2 separate regions of the Homo sapiens genome follow, and region 2 is linked to region 1. Evidence: promoter capture Hi-C in human tissues and cell types (Jung and others, 2019). All regions are on one chromosome and are shown on one strand. Each heading gives the region's core, a stretch centred on a gene start or on the middle of the fragment in contact. The rest is flanking DNA. Distances are from core to core; before and after follow the strand shown. Region 1 holds the start of OLFM2 (olfactomedin 2). Region 2 overlaps DNMT1 (DNA methyltransferase 1).

Region 1 (5,381 bases), core at 2,157-4,656:
TCAATGCTCTTCCCCCAGACACCCACAAGGCTCCCTCTCTCACCTCCTTCAGATGTCACCTGAAACACTACTTCCTTAGAGACACCTTCCCTGACCACACTGGCTCAAATAGCCCCCACCTTGTAATCTTTTTCTGTTTTTTTGCTTTGAGACAGTCTTGTTCTGTTGCCTAGGCTGGAGTGCAGTGGCATGACCTTGGCTCACTGGAACCTCTGCCTCCCAGGTTCAAGCAATTCGCCTGCCTCAGCCTCCTGAATAGCTGGGACTACAGGTGTGCAACACCACACCTGGCTAATTTTTTGCATTTTTAGTAGAGACGGGGTTTCACCATGTTGGCCGGGCTGGTCTCAAACTCCTGACCTCAAGTGATCCACTCACCCTGGCCTCCCAAAGTGCTGGGATTACAGGCGTGAGCCTCCATGCCCGACTGCTATCACTCTAATCTTTTTTTTTTTTTTTTTTTTTTGAGACAGAGTTTCACTCTTGTTGTCCAGGCTGGAGTGCAATGGCGATCGCAGCTCACCGCAACCTCTGCCTCCCAGGTTCAAGCAATTCTCCTGCCTCAGCCTCCCTAGTAGCTGGGATTACAGGCGCCTGCCACCACACCCAGCTAATTTTTTGTATTTTTAGTAGAGACAGGGTTTCACTATGTTGGCCAGGCTGGTCTCGAACTCCTGACCTCAGGCGATCCACTTGCCTCAACTTCCCAAAATGCTGGGATTACAGGCGTGAGCCACAGCACCCGGCTCCAGTCTAATCTTCTATACTTTATCTGTTATTCTTCATGCTACTTGCATTGTATTATATGTATATTTAGTTGCCGACACCGTATTACATGGTTATTCGGCTCTTTTCTGTCTCCTCTGCTAGGTCAACTCCAGGAGAGCAGGGATTTGATGACTCAGTTGGTGGCTGTATCCCCAGTGCATAATCATATCTGTTCATTGAATGGATTAACCAATGATTTCTAGGAAGGACCCCTGGGCCCATCAGGGACAGGGAAGAAGTCTTTGGAAAGTGATGGAGGGAGCGAAGAGTGGGTAGAGCATCCTCTCTGCAGACCCCTCCCTTCCCTGGGGTGCCAGGCTTGGTGGGCCAACGCCAAGGGGGTGTATGGGGCGCCGAGACTGTTTCACAACCATGTAGTTCCCGCGGTGGCCGCCTGGAGGCACTGCAGCCCGCGGCAGGATTCCACCAGCCCCGCCCTAACGGATTACCTCATTTGGCCACGCCCCCGTTGTCCTTTAGCCCCGCCTCCACTGACCTCGTTAGTCCCGCCCCCAAAGCAACTCCCTCCCAGCCCTGGGGGCTGTAGGAGTCACCCTCCAATTGCAATTCTGGCAGCAAACTCTGGCATCCTAGCCAATCTTGGTGAGAAGCCAGAAAATCTAGTGCCCCCCTAGCAGGGAGTGGAGGAGAAGCCACAGGGGGTGGTTCTCTGTCTCCTCTGCTAGGTCAAGGATAATTCAACTTGATTCCTGGCTCATTTTTTTTCCACTGGTTTCTCAAGTGTGTGCCTCTTTTGGTCTCTCGTCTCCCAGGTGTGTCTCTTGGCTTCTCTCAGGCTCACACATCCATTGAGTACCTATTGTGTGTGTCCTCATGCCTGGGGCTGGGCACACTCCCTATCCCACCCAGCGCGTGGGTGCTGAGATGCGTGGGGAAATGGAGGAGCGAGGGAGGGGACCCCACAATCTCTCCTCGTGGCCTGGAAATCCTTCTATCTGGAGTCTAACCTCCATTCCTCCCAACACCCCCCTCGGGGTGAGCACAAGGGTCTGATTCTTTTCTTGATAAGGGGAAGGTGCCCAAATTGTTTCTCCCCTGCCTATCTACCTAAAAGCCCACCTAGCAATGTCTTCACGGACGCTGTCCACACCCATGGAGCGGATTATTTAACAAGAGGGTAATCGTGTGGGCTCAGGAGCCGGACTGCCTCGGTTCAGTCCCACCTCTGTCACTCTCGAGCTTGAGCAAGTGATTTAACTTTTCTGCGCCTCAGTTTCCCCATCCATAAAATGAGGTAACAATACCATGCTCTAGTAGGGAGGAGGCAGAGGGGGTTAAATGCCTTAGTCTGTGCTGTGTGATTGAAACAGCACCTCTCAAATTAGCACGTAATGAATGATCACTGTTATCATAATGACTATTTTATTATTTTTGATCCCAGCTTCCCTGTGAACTCCTACAGATCTGAGAACTTGGGGGTGCTCTCACTCCCAAGATGGAGGAGGAGAGGGGCTTTCCAATAGCAAAAGAGAGCGTGGACGCCCCACATTTTGCAAGCCTCCCTGAGCCTGCCCAAGAGAAAGGTGCCATGGGGAGGGAGACCCGCTTCTGTAAGGGTATGAATGGCGTGTGCGGTTGTGAGCAAGGCACCAAGATACACACACACACGTGCATGGATGGACACGTTTGCACACACAGCGCTTGCACACACACACACCCTTTTAGAGTGATTTACCCAAAGGTACAGAATAGCACACGCTCACTCCAAGGCTCTCACACGGCCACACACCTGGCCACACACGTATTGTACAACACCCAGTCATCTGGAGCCAGTAATGAGGACACGGTCACACACAGACTCTGTCTCACGTACTGATCACACCCCAACTCGGGCACTAGTTGGACAAGCCCCCCAACCGCCACACACACAAACTCCCCCCGGTCACACCCAACCACGACACAAAGACACACACGTTTACCCTGCACCCCCACAGCATTTCACACGCGTCCCCGTCAGTCACTCTCACGTGAGTCCCGTCCCCTGCCCCACACTGGGGGCTGCAGGCGAGGAGTGGAGGGCTTCAGAAACTGGGCATCTCGGCCCCGAAGAGGAAGTCAAGGGTAAGCAACCGCCCCCCTCCAATGCCCCCTGAAGTTTCCCTCCCAACCCCATTCAGCTCCAGCGAGATGGCGGGGTGGGGGCTCGGGGCCATGGAGGGGTTGAGAACCCCAAAGACGCCACCCCCCAAACCAGCCCAGCTTGAGGCTGGATTTGAAGCCCCCCTCGTCCTCTCCCAAGCCAGAGAGTGCACGTCCCGGCCCCTCCCCCGCTGCGACCCCCGCCCCTCGCCGCCCTGCAGCTGGGGGGGCTTGTGGAGCCTCCCAACCCCGTTTCTCCGGGAACCCTCCGCGCCCCCCTCCTCTCCCGGAGCCACCCGCGCCCGCACCTGCCCGCCGGGCCCCTACCTGTCCGGCCAGGCCTGAGCACAGCAGCAGCAGCAGCGGCGGCGGGACCGTGAGCGGCCACATGACGCGCCCCTAGCCCGGCGTCCCGACCCCCGCCCGCCCTAGCGGCGCCTCGGCGCGGGGACCGCCACCAGGCGCGACCCCGCCCGCCCGGCCGGGGCGACCCTGCGCCGCCGCCTCCCCCGCCTCGCCGGCGGCCGGGATTCCGCCCCACCCCCGCCCCCTCGCTCGCTCCGAGTCTTTGTTGCGGGCTCCGCCCCCCGCCCCGCCCCCAGCTCCTCTTCGGGAGCAGCTCGAGCAGGGTCGGGTGGGGGGGTGGGGGCGGGGAAGTGGGGGAGCCAGCGCCGGCGAGGGGACCTGAGGACAGGACTTGGCAGCGCCCCCCAACCCCCAGGCCATTCCGGGAGCGGGTCGCGGAGGTGGGGGAGGGGTGCCCGTCACGTGTTTGTAAATTTCACCCTCCGGGGGCATTTCCCACGTTGCAGGTGGGACGGGGACGAATGGTTGGGGGAGAGGAATAGGAGGAAGGCCTGGTAGCAGAGAGGGGAAATGATGAACGCCCCCTCCCTAAAAACTCAAGAGTCAACAGGGAAACTGAGGCAGAATCTGAAATTGGAAGTTGGAGGAGGGGTCAATGCCAGGACAAGAGGGGTGAGGCATAGATGGAGACGGGGAATAAGAGGAAAAAATTGAGGTTGGGGGGACAGGAGACCGAGAATCAGGCAAGAGGCCAATGGAAATGGCCACGTGGGTGGGCTTGGCCTCAAAAAGGGGCGTCTCGTTTTCACTCTCCCCGGGCGCCCCATTTCCCCACCAGTCCTCCCGCTGGAAGCCTCCCCGCCTCCGCCACACCTGGAAGAGTTTCTCTTCGCTCCCTGTTTCAATAGCCCAAGATGAAAGACCACATCCCCCGAGAGAATCAAAATATTAACACCGCCTCCACGCGAAGCCATTTGCATATGAAGGGCGTCCTTGTCTAGCCTCACTTTCGGGAGGCTTTCCAGCCTTTCTCTGCCTCTCACTCCTCCAAAAGTCTCCCTAGGCCGGGCGCGGTGGCTCACGCCTGTAATTCCAGCAATTTGGGAGGCTGAGGAGGGTGGATCATCTGAGGTCAGGAGTTCAAGACCAGCCTGGCCAACATGGCAAAACCCCACCTCTACTAAAACATACAAAAATTAGCCGGGCGTGGTGGTGCATGCCTGGAATCCCAGCTACTCGGGAGGCTGAGACAGGAGAATCGCTTGAACCCGGGAGGCAGAGGTTGCAGTGAGCAGAGATCGTGCCATTGCACTCCAGCCTGGGCAACAGGAGCAAACCTTGTCTCAAAAAAAAAAAAAAAAAAAAAGTGTCCCTAGTCGTCTTTCCTCCCCACAGCCCCTCTAGGGATTCGGATATATGTAGGCAGAGGTGGAGGAGGGGGGCGGGCAAATAAGTCAGATTGGAAAGAAATCGGGCATAAAATATGCGAGGCCAGGAAGCCTGGCATTTTTGTGACCCTGATACTGTTGGGCTAGGAGGGGTCTCCCCAGACGCTGGTGGGGCCTCGACCCCAGCTGGTGTCCAGGCTCTTAACACCATCGCAAGAATGAATTCAAGGAGGAATCAGAAAATCATGAAAAGTTCGGAGATTTTTTTGTTAAGGGAAAAGTCCACACTTGAGAAAAGGGAGTGGGCGTACTTAAGAGAGAGAGATGGGCAAGGTGGTTTGGGACTGCTACCTTTATGTGTCTCTTTTTTTTTTTTTTTTTTTTTTTTTTTGAGACAAAGTCTCGCTCTGTCACCCAGGCTGGAGTGCAGTGGTGTGATCTCGGCTCACTGCAACCTCTGCCTCCCAGGTTCAAGCAATTCTCCTGCCTCAGCCTCCTGAGTAGCTGGGATTACAGGTGTGCGCCATCACAGCCGGCTAATTTTTTGTGTTTTTAGTAGAGACAGGGTTTCACCATATTGGCCAGCCTGGTCTCAAACTCCTGACCTCGTGATCCACCCGCCTTGGCCTCCCAAAGTGCTGAGATTACAGGCGTGAGCCACCACAACAGGCCACTGTGTATCTCTTTAACCAAGGGATGGAATATTCATGAAAACTGGAAAAAGGTGGACTGTGGTGCCACCCACTTTTACACCAAATTTGGGTGTCCCTGGAATTGTCAAGGGCGCTGGTGGGTGGGTAATTTTAGTATTTTAATGAG
Region 2 (5,381 bases), core at 1,726-4,225, 210 kb after region 1:
TCCCTGGGGGAGAGAGGCCAGAGGCTAAACCCGATCCTCAGAGTCCAAGTCCACCTTGCTCTCAAGCGCCTTGTTAACTCAGGCGGCCTCGCTGTCCCAGAGTCAGTAACACCAGAGGTGGTTTTACACTGAGGGATTCACAGGCAGCCTCCAAGTTACAGAAGAATAACTTGAAAAGAAACTCATACAATGACGTACCTTTTCCCTTGCCCTTCCCTTTGTTTCCAGGGCTACGGGCATGGTTGGGAGGATCTTCAAAGCTTTTGCTCTTTGCATTATAGGCCTGAAAAGGAGAGAACTGCAATCGTTTGGGAGAGAAACGCACTGTCCCCTCTCTAACGCAGACTAGTAAGAAGGCAATTTGATAGTCACTTAATTTCTCCCTCAGTGGGGCCATGACCAATTAGCCACCAATAAGAGTAGTTTGACTTTGCTACAATAGAAACTTAAAACAATCCATTTTATTAATACTAACATTTGATCTGGCTGACACTGAAATGCCTATTACAAGCACTTGAGAGTACCTTCTAGAACAGGAAAAAGTGCTATGCAGAATCTGCTGTCCAATTGGGCTACCTCATCCATGCCTGGGAGAACGTGGATGTATCGTTTTAAGGTAACAACACGGAAAGGCCAAGCCCCAACAATTTACAAGTCATGAGCTTGATCAGCTGACTCGTGGGCCCTCTCCATAACGAGGGCCACCCGCACAGGCATGTGGGCTGGGCCTGGACGTAGGCGCCTGGCCCAAGGGACCCAGGAGCAGGGGCACCTTCTCCAACTCATACTAAGACACCAGTCAGGCTGGTGGAAGCTGCCTCATGGTCCTCAACGTTCAGTTGCACCAAGACACTAAAACGTTAGGTTCTCTAATGACGTACTTTTTAAAAACCAGGAGTGTTAAACTCCGGGACCACTTGAATCTCATACAACTTGTGCTCTGGAGAACCCTGCTCAGACCCCCGTAAAGCTCCTGCAGAACAGCTTCACGTCAGCCAACCACCCACTTCTTACAAAAGCTGAAACCCTGCAGCCAAGCCGCCTTGTGTATAACCCGACATCAGACTCCTTCTGGCCAACTTTGACCCCGAAGCCTTCCCTCTAGCAAGCAGGGGCACCACCTCGAGGAAGTAGAAGCGGTTGGGGCCGCCCATGGAGTACACCTGGACGCACTCGGGCAGGTCCTCCCCATACTCCACGGTGCAGCGGCCCTGCACAGCCTTGAAGTCCACCACGGCCTCCTCGTCGCTCCAGTAGAGCAGGTTGATGTCTGCGTGGTAGCTCGCTGGAGTGGACTTGTGGGTGTTCTCAGGCCTGCGAGCGGGAGAGGCCTCGTTAGGAGCTCTCCTTTGTGGTGAGCTTATGCTGAATTAAACAGTACCATGTTCCTGGGGTGCTCAGGGAACTGCAGGGTAAAGACCCCCTAGTTCGAGAACCGCAGGGTAAAGACCCCCTCAGTTAGGGAACTGCAGGGTAAAGATATCTCCTCCCCACACTGGGGAACTGCAAGGTAGACTCCCCCCCATTTAGGGAACTGCAGGGTAAAGACCCCCCCTAGTTAGGGAACCACAGGGTAAAGATCCCCCAAGTTAGGGAATCGCAGGGTAAAGACCCCTCCCAGTAAGGGAATCACAGGGTAAAGATATCCCCTCCTCACATTAGGGAACTGCAAGGTAGATTCCCCCACAATTAGGGAACCGCCAGGTAATGACCCCCGACCCAGTTGGGAACCGCAGGGTAAAGACCCCCCAGTTATGGAACCGCAGGGTAAAGACCTCCCCAGTTAGGGAGTCATAGGGTAAAGACCCCCCTACTTAGGGAACCGCAGGTAAAGATAACCCCTCCCCAAATGAGGGAACTGCAAGGTAGATTCGCCCCCAATTAGGGAACCACAGGGTAGAGACCCCCCAACCATTAGGTCAGCTTGGCTGCTTGCTCTGCACGCCTGGCCCTGCCCTGCTGTGTCCGCCTGCCGGTAGCAGCCTCTCGAGTGTGTTTCTCTCACCTGTACCACTCACAGCCCTTGTTTTATTTCCTGTTATTACAAAGGCTTCAGGAAATCTTTGATCTATGTTAGCTAAGAGGTGAGGCAAGTGTATAGCTTCCTGTACAGGCTAGTTTCAGGTTAATGCCTAATCACCGCAAGTTACTCGGGTCTTAGAAAAAGAAAACGTAATAGGCCAAAAGCTTAGGAAAGAGAAAAAATCCCAGAGACAGAAAGGAGGACCTGGGAAGAGGTGGGGACAGCGGGACAGAACCTGGACAGTCATAGATGGAGCTTGGGAGGTTCTCTGGGGGTGCCCAGGCACTCTACCCGTTTTTTCTTTTGAGACGGGGTCTGGCTGTCACCCAGGCCGGAGTGCAGTGGTGGGATCATGGCTCACTACAGCCTCAAATTCCTGGGTTTCAGTGATCCCTTCAGCCTCAGCCTCCCAAGTAGCTGGGATTACAGGCGTGTGCCACCACGCCCAGCTAGTCTTTTTTTTTTTTTTTTTTTGGTAGGGCCGGGGTCTCACTACGTTTCCTCAAGCTGGTCTTGAACTCCTAGACTCAAGTGATCTTCCTGCCTCAGCCTCCCAAAGTGCTAGGATTAGAGGCGTGAGCTACAGTGCCCAGCCAGCTTAAGGATTTCTTTTGGAAAAAGGGCTCTGCAACATTAAAATAAGGACCTAAAAGTGAGGGCTGGGAACTAGAATTCTAGTCATTATCAGTGCCCACCGATAATCAGAAACACTTGGAAAAACAGCTACTTCAACCTAACTCTTAGAACAACTGTGGGTGCTATGCCACAACCTTGTTTCAGGCAGAGCCTTCTAGAAGAGTCTGTGGCCTCGTGGAAGAACAGAGGCCTCTGCTGACCTGTAGAACTTGTTGACCCGGATTTTGATGTCAGTCTCATTGGGCCTGCCGTTGCTCTTCTTGGGACAGAAGATCTCTTTGATCCGGCCAATTCGGTAGGGCTCAGGGGCATCCAGGTTGCTGCCTTTGATGTAGTCGGAGTATTTCCGGTAGTGCTCTGGGTACAGGTCCTCATCCACGGGCTCCTTCCGTGGGCGTTTCACGGGACTGGACAGCTTGATGCTGCAGAGAAGCACCCACTTGACATCAATGAACCTTCCACCTTGCAGTGGTCAGTCAGGCATGACTGACCAGTGAAAATAACCATTTAAAGTCAAGCACCTGATGAATTAAGGTAGGTGTGTACCCTAAGAAATGATTTAGGCTGGGCATTGTGGCTCACGCCTGTAATCCCAGCACTTTGGGAGACCAAGGCAGGTGGACCACAAGGTCAGAAGTTCGAGACCACCCTGGCCAACACGGTAAAACCCTGTCTCTACTAAAAATACAAAAATTAGCCGGGTGTGGTGGTACATGCCTATAATTCCAGCTACTTGGGAGGCTGAGGCAGGAGAATTGCTTGAACCCAGGAGGCAGAGGTTGCAGTGAGCTGAGATTGTGCCACTGCACTCCAGCCTGTGTGACAGAGCAAGACTCCATCTCACAGAAAAAAAAAAAAAAGATTTAGCTGCAGATTTAGTCTCACAGTTTGAAGCACGCATTCACCCTCTGCGCATTACTGGCTACGGTGGTGGCTGACACTGCTCAAATACCCCAGGCTCCTGCCTCCCGACTACTTGGCATCTTGTGTTTCCTGGCATGTGACGTGGGCAGAAGTGACCAAAGAGGATGTCACTGCCTGGGGAATGTCCTGTGTGCTTTCCCTTGGGCTCAAACACTGGCAACTTCTGACTCCAGCGGCCCAGATATCCAAGGGACACAACAGGTGGAGTCCTCTGCTGACCTGTGATGGGCACCTCGTATGAGCGAGACAGCGGCTACCGTGGTTTTTGTTGAGAGAGTTTCACTCTGTCACCCAGGTTAGAGTGCAGTGGCACAATCTCGGCTCACTGCAACTCCTCCTCCCAGGTTCAAGCGATTCTCGTGCCTCGGCCTCCCAAGTAGCTGGGATTACAGGTGCCCACCACCACACCCAGCTAACCCTGGCTAATTTATTTTTAGTAGAGACAGGTATGTCGGCCAGGCTGGTCTTGGTCTTGAACTCCTGACAGGCATGAGCCACCGCACCCAGTCCAGCTTCTGTGGTTTTAAGTCACTGTGATTTGGGGTTGTTGCTATGATACAACCTACGCTACCCTGACTAAGGCTCTGATCTAGAAGCGACACTGGAGGCCAATGTAAGGCGCCACAGGGCCTGGGACAATGGGAGTGTGGTCTGACTAGTGTGGAAAAGCTGTTCTTTGAAGAAGGCCTGCCGTTAGGGAAGTCAGCTGTCACGTTCTCCCCACTAGGCCCCCCAGGAGTCTGACGGGCCCCAAAGGCGTCTCTGTGCTGACTCTCCCACTTTGCCAGGAGCAACTGGCAGAAAACACTACGGGGAGGTGTCCCCTTCCCACCAAGGACAACCAGAGGGGGTAACGCGCCCCAACTGTGCCAAGGCTGGAGGGAACCTGCTTCTCCAGTTCTCATAATTCACAGTAACTGAACTAAGGCAAGGGAGCTGGGGCTCTAAGGAAATGGAATTGTGAGCCGGGAAGGCATCTGGAAAACGTTGGCTGTAATTCCAACCACACGCTGATTCTTAGAAAAAACACAGAATGGATCAGTGTGGAAACGATCTGTGGCTTTAGGTTTTTCCTGGAAGAGCCTCGATCCTCTGACACAGAGAAGTCATCTGATGTGATTCCCTCTAACCAAGAAGTAACTCATGTCCGTTAAACCTTTACTTTAAGCCAGGTACTGTATGGAGCACTTTCAACTCACTCAACCCTTCGAGCCCCAGCAGGCAAGATCCCACTCTCCCACTTCACAGTAGGGGACGGAGAGGAGGTGTCCTTGGGCAGAGGCAGAACTTGGGGGTGGGCCCCCAGCTGTCCCTCGCGCTTTATCCAGTAAGTTCTTTTTTTTTCTTTTTTTATTTTGAGACGGAGTCACACTCTGTTGCCCAGGATGGAGTGCAGTGGCATGATCTTGGCTCACTGCAACCTCTGCCTCCCAGGTTCAAGTGATTCTCCTGTCTCTGCCTCTCGAGTAGCTGGGACTACAGGCGCGCACCACCACACCCGGCTAATTTTTGTATTTTTAGTAGAGACGAGGTTTCACCATGTTGGCCAGGCTGGTCTCAGACTCCTGACCTCAGATGATTCCCCACTGCCTCGGCCTCCCAAAGCGCTGGGATTACAGGCGTGAGAAACCACACCCAGCCAAACCAGCGAGTTGACTTTTACGCTCAGCTTTGCTCTGCAATAGCATCATGGTCAGTCTACACGATTTATGTTGTCTGTTTGCCACCTATGCCAACGTGACGGCTAGGACAACAGCTGGTGCGGAGGGATTGGCAATGTCTGTAAGGAGGGGGACAC

Evidence for each region. The method cuts DNA at HindIII sites, captures the fragments that hold promoters and counts their contacts. A contact is called where the count stands out against the background at its distance.
Region 2: a fragment that was not itself captured here is called in contact with the fragment with the promoter of OLFM2 in region 1 in 1 of the 25 tissues and cell types used here (mesenchymal stem cells).

What each region holds. Positions count from the first base shown.
Region 1 is chr19:9,933,109-9,938,489 of GRCh38, forward strand. It overlaps OLFM2 (olfactomedin 2), which reads right to left and starts at 3,407. Exons shown (of 6, transcript NM_058164.4): 1 at 3,196-3,407. The coding sequence starts at 3,258. RefSeq lists enhancers at 2,663-3,257, 3,924-4,426. The HindIII fragment of the contact is 7,550 bases long and covers 1-5,381 here.
Region 2 is chr19:10,140,907-10,146,287 of GRCh38, forward strand. It overlaps DNMT1 (DNA methyltransferase 1), which reads right to left. Exons shown (of 41, transcript NM_001130823.3): 29 at 2,860-3,081; 30 at 1,122-1,314; 31 at 199-283; 32 at 1-3. Among named protein-coding and RNA genes, the nearest start is that of EIF3G, 24 kb to the left of the region's middle. The HindIII fragment of the contact is 3,505 bases long and covers 1,224-4,728 here.